Linked DNA regions of Homo sapiens: region 2 is linked to region 1. The links are contacts of gene promoters, found by promoter capture Hi-C in human tissues and cell types (Jung and others, 2019). All regions are on one chromosome and are shown on one strand. The core of a region is centred on a gene start or on the middle of the fragment in contact, and the rest is flanking DNA. Distances in the headings are between cores, read along the strand shown.

What was found. Contacts are between HindIII fragments. The study calls those that stand out against the background at their distance.
Region 2: a fragment that was not itself captured here is called in contact with the fragment with the promoter of METTL4 in region 1 in 5 of the 25 tissues and cell types used here (H1 embryonic stem cells, IMR-90 fibroblasts, dorsolateral prefrontal cortex and 2 more).

The regions. Positions count from the first base shown.
Region 1 is chr18:2,570,197-2,572,848 of GRCh38, reverse strand. It overlaps METTL4 (methyltransferase 4, N6-adenosine), which reads left to right and starts at 1,344. Exons shown (of 9, transcript NM_022840.5): 1 at 1,344-1,700. NDC80 (NDC80 kinetochore complex component) reads right to left here and starts at 1,292. Exons shown (of 17, transcript NM_006101.3): 1 at 1,166-1,292. RefSeq lists enhancers at 1,287-1,446, 1,329-2,251. The HindIII fragment of the contact is 12,565 bases long and covers 1-2,652 here.
Region 2 is chr18:2,263,338-2,265,989 of GRCh38, reverse strand. No RefSeq gene overlaps it. Among named protein-coding and RNA genes, the nearest start is that of METTL4, 310 kb to the left of the region's middle. The HindIII fragment of the contact is 8,974 bases long and covers 1-2,652 here.

The DNA.
Region 1 (2,652 bases), core at 95-2,594:
GGGTATCTCTTTTTTGTTCATGTACACTGAAGTTCTCATTTGCAAGGAACATCTATTTAATTCCATTTAAAAATATTCAACATAAACATTTATTAACTGCCCACTATATATATAGGGGAGTGTGCTAGGCAATGCAGGAGATGCAAAGACGAGTAAGTTACGGTTTTTGCCTTCACAAGGGTATCCGTGGTAGCTAAAGCCCTGTCTGTTACCCAGACCACATTACTGCTGTTGGCTGTGCCTATTTCAATAGGAAGACAAAAAAATTACCTCAAATTCTCTTATTCACCTCAAAATGTTTCCTTTTCTTTGGTTTCAGAGAATGGAATTATTCTGTTTTCCTAATGTCAATCTCTCCTGCTCTGTCCTTAACCCATTGTTTCCTCAATTACTGCCCTTTTGGCATCAATCTCCCCTTCAACAAGGATAAATCATCCGGTCCATAAAATGGTCTATAGGCTGCCTCCATTTACAAACCACATTAACAGGTCACTCCCTTCACATCTGCTAAAAAATTTGTCTCCTAGGATACACATGATTGACAAAACTTTTGATCCTGTCTCATCTCTGCACCCAGCCTTCTCAGGTCCTGCCCTGGCTTTCAGGAAGGTGACAATCCTTTTACTTCTCTGGGTACTCCTTAGTCTTTTACACTGATTAGACTCTTCTTGATTTTGGCCGCCTATTTCCTCTTCAATATGCGCTTGTTCATCTATTCAACTTTTCCACTCACACCTGTGTGTCCACGTTTAATCTCCACTTAGAATGTAGCTCTCATGATTTAAGATGAAGACTTCTACACGCAGTCCTACACGGCCATAAGAAGCTACACTAGTATTCAGACGCAACCCACCCAACGAGTCCTCTCTTGTCCATCTCTTTCCGCCCCCTTCAATTCTTCCCCGTTTCCTCTCCCGAGCCTCCACTCCTCATCAGTGTCCCCCAGGCCCTCCCCTTTCCTCCTTGGGAAATCGTTGCCACTAGAAATTTAATAGATCCCGTGAAACCAGCGCCTCGCACAGTTTTGGCCTCGAGGCTTCTCCCAACAGCAAACAAACACCAAAACATCGCCTCAGGACCTCTAAATTTAAGTCATTGGCGCCATCACTTTCTTCCTCCAGAACAGCTCTGCAGAAACAAAGTTAATCCGATGTCATTCAGTCACCTTTTTTCCAGTTTCCTGACACGACCCAGGGACCGAATTTCTGTAAACCGTGCAAGTATCTGCTAGACAGGACAGCGGTCATCAAAACACCAGGTCCTTCCTCGGCCCGCCAAAGCCGTTCGAATTTGAAATTCTCCGCCGGCGCTGACGTCATTACGCACGACGCGCGCAGTAACTTCCATGCGACCGCCTCGTCGCTGGAAGGCTGCGTGCTGGTCGCGCCCAGCTGCGTCACCCCAGGAACTGGGGTCTGTGGGCCAGTGTGGCCGTCTCTACGAAGACTGGCACGACCCCTAAAGTTAGGTCGGAAGACCTGTGGGCAGCTTGAGCGCCGAGGAGTGCCCTGAACGCTCAACTCGCCCTGGAAACGTTTTTCCGTACAGCAACATGGCGGCGCCCATGGACTCTTAGAAAAGGAGAAAGCTTTTTCTCTGTGGACTGGAAGGGGCATTTTTCATGATCACTATTTAGATGGGTGCTGTTTTCATGAGGAGAGTCTGGGAAGGCGGCGTCCGCTTTTCTGACAAGGGAAGAGGTGAGGTGGGAGAGGGGCTGCGGAGTGGGTGGAATGGGCTCCCAGGATTGCGTTGGTACGGCTGCCGAAATTCGGGCTCAGTATTTGATCACTTGCCGGAGGCTCACGGTCCTCTGGTGGTGGCTGACCTGTGAGAGGCTAGGAAGAATCCAAGTGTTTGGGGGCGGGCGGCGAGGGAGTGGATGTGAAGCAGAGACGCAGGAGAGGGGTGCACTAACAACAGTAACAGTAGATCACTTTGCTAAAATAGGATTTCCTCGCTGCTGTGAGTTTGAATCCAGAAACAGGCACTGCCCGGTACCTGGAGAGTGGTGGTGATGAAAGATCTCACAGCTCCAGGAAGTCTGGATACTTGGGTCTGGTAGCAATTGTGCCATTAACTAGCGTTGTTATTTTTGGGCAGCTTGCCTTTCTGCTCTGAGTTTCAATTTTCCCGTCTGAATTTCTAGCTCTCACTAGCCATTCCAGGACCCTTTTCACCTCAGCTGTGGCCTATGAAGGGGATGGGGAGGAACCAAGGATTATATTAATATAAAAATTATATGAAAATTAGGCAACCGTCTGATAATAAAAAGTCTCCTTGTGGAATACTGTTAGGTTAAACTTTACCTACAGATTGTTAAATCCTTAGCACTAATGTTTTCCCCAGAAAAGATTAATGGAAACATCATTTGCTTTTCTGACTAGATAGTTGCTGCTTCCAAAGGTGGTTTTACACAAATACAAAATTAAAAACACCTTTAGTACAGAAATAATTGCTTGTATTTCGGTATACATTCACAGTACAGTTCAGCATTTAGTGGTCCTGCTAGCAATTTGCCAGGAAGTCAAGCCTGCCAATTTCCTGATATTCCTGCTGTGCACCCCAACTTCTTAATCCCTGCTGAGGATCTTGAGAAGCAGCAGCACCAAAACCAAAGTAGGCACCAAATTCAAGGTTCTTTTGGTTCCG
Region 2 (2,652 bases), core at 54-2,553, 310 kb after region 1:
AAGAAAGAAATAAAAGGGAAAGGAGGACCTGGAAACATAGTTTTGGCCTTAAGATGCTGCCATCTTTGAATAATAGTTGAAATGCAGGAAAAGTCAAAGCCTTAGAAGAATGAAGGGCTGTGAATGGATTTTATTACATTGCCAATACAGTTGACCCTTGCATAAAGTGAGGCTTGGGGTGTGGACCCCCGTGCAGTTGAAAATCTGCGCATAACTTTTGACTCCCAGAAACTTAACGACTAAGAGCCTACTCTTGATGGAAGCCTCACTGATAACACAAACAGTTGATTAACACATTATTTTGTATTTTATATGTATTATATACTATATTCTTAAAATAAAGTAAAGAAAACAATGCTATTAAGAAAACCATAGGAAGAGAAAATAGATGCACTCTTCATTAAGTGGAAGTGGATCATCATGAAGGTCTTCAGCCTCATCATCTTCATGTTGAGTAGGCTGGGGAGGAGGAGGAAGAAGATGGGTTGGTCTTGCTGTCTCATGGGTAGAAGAGGTGGAAGAAAATCTGCGTATAAGTGGATTCATACAATTCAAACCTGTGTTGTTCAGGAGTCAACTGTTCTTCCAATCACAGTTCACAGTTTCACAGCGCAGCTTTAGGGACATTTAAAATTATTCTTTGTCGGGCACGGTGGCTCACGTCTGTTATTCCAGCACTTTGGGAGGCCAAGGTGGGCAGATCACTTGACGTCAGGAGTTTGAGACCATCCTGGCCAACATAGTGAAACTCTGTCTCTACTAAAAACATAAAAGTTAGCTGGGTGTGGTGGCGAGTGCCTGTAGTCCCAGCTACCCAGGAGGCTGAGATAGGAGAATTGTAGGATAATCGCTTGAACCCAGGAGGCAGAGGCTGCAGTGAGCTGAGATTGCACCACTGCACTCCAGGCTGGGCAACAGAGCGAGACCCCATCTCAAAAACAAACCAACAAAAAAAAATAAAAGAATTATTCTTTGAAATAATCTATGAAAGTGTTTCTATAATACAAATGTAGAAAAATAATGTAATACATAAAATTAATATAACATAACTTAATACACAAACTTATAAGAATAAATTTTGCATTGAAGAGAATCTCAGAAGTAAAGTAACCACAGTCTCCTGCACTATGTAGTTACCATGAGGAAAGAACCCTGGGGCTATGTATGCCAGGGCAGGGAGCCTAGAGAGTCCGCAGAACCTCTGCCATGGCTGTTCACTTGGAATGCTTTTCTTGTTCACCCACACCAGTGTTCCTCTCAGAGCCATCTGCAGGGACACTGATAGATATCTAAAGGATGGATGTTTAGCAGGATATGATGACCAGTGTCATCTGTGGGTCCAGGTGTCTTAGTTAGCTCAGGCTATAATATAACAACATACCCCAGACTGTCTTATAAATAACAGACATTCATTTCCCATAGTTCTGGAGGCTGGAAGTCTGAGATCATTGAGCTAATGTAAATATAATCGGGTTCTGGTGAGGGCTCTCTTCTGGGTTGCTGACAGCCACCTTCTCCTTGTATTCTCATGTGGTGGACTGCAGACAAAGCAAACTCTCATGTCTTTTCTTTAAAGGGCACTAATTTCATTCATGAGACCCCTTATGACCCAATCACCTCTCAAAAGCCCTACATCCTAATAACCATCACACTGGGGGTTAGGATTACAACTTATGAATTTTGCTTATGTGAAGAATATTCACATGACCATTGTGAACATTAACAGTCAGTCCATTGTGCTGGGTAATGAAATCTCAAAGATGCTCTCTTCAAGCTGCTGAATTGGAGGGCATGCATGCTGTTTTGACAGCACCTCCAATAGGGAGGGGAATGCTAGGCAGAGGTGAATTTGACCATCAATACTGGTATTGTGGAGTGGGGGCAGCATTGAGGGGTAGCTGCCCCTAGGGACCAGGGAAGGGTCTTAATGAGCCATAAAACTGTGAATTTTGAATTTTCAAATGGAAGAATCTACCTTAGATTCAGAACAGAACGATGATTATGTTAACTGTTGATTAGGTAACTAACACCCACCATATTCCCAAAGATGTGGAGAAATGACATGAAATTTTGCATGCCACTTGGAAACTCTTAGATTTGAGCATCTCAAGACTTCCCCCTTGTTACACAACAATCTTTGAGAGCATAGTTTTCTTTCATTGATTTTTGTCAACATATTGGTTTAAATTTTGCCAGGTAAAAGCTTTGGAACTGCAGAACAGGGCCTTTGTTCCTTTTACATCATGCTGCCTTTCATTTTCTATTATAGCATTCTCTCTAAATGATGTGCCTTAAGATTCATTCAGAATGCCACGGCTGACAGATGGCATTCTCCCTGTCTGACTTGGTGCAACACAGCCGGGCACTCTATAAAAACTGAGAAGTCAGAGCTCTCCTAATTCTCTGCTCAAAATTGAGTACCTGTTGAGGAACCTGGCTGCTGCTTAGCAGCTACAGTGTGGGGCTGGGAACTGGTGTTCAGGGTTAACTGACGCACGGGGGCACGACAGCCCTGCTCTGGGTTTCCTCTGCCATGTGCCGGGATGGGCGACATGCTGGCCTCTGGGACCGGTCAGCAGAGGTAATGTCTCCCTGTGGTGACACATTTTAGTGGCTTACAACATCCAAGCATTATTTTCTACTCTCATCTCA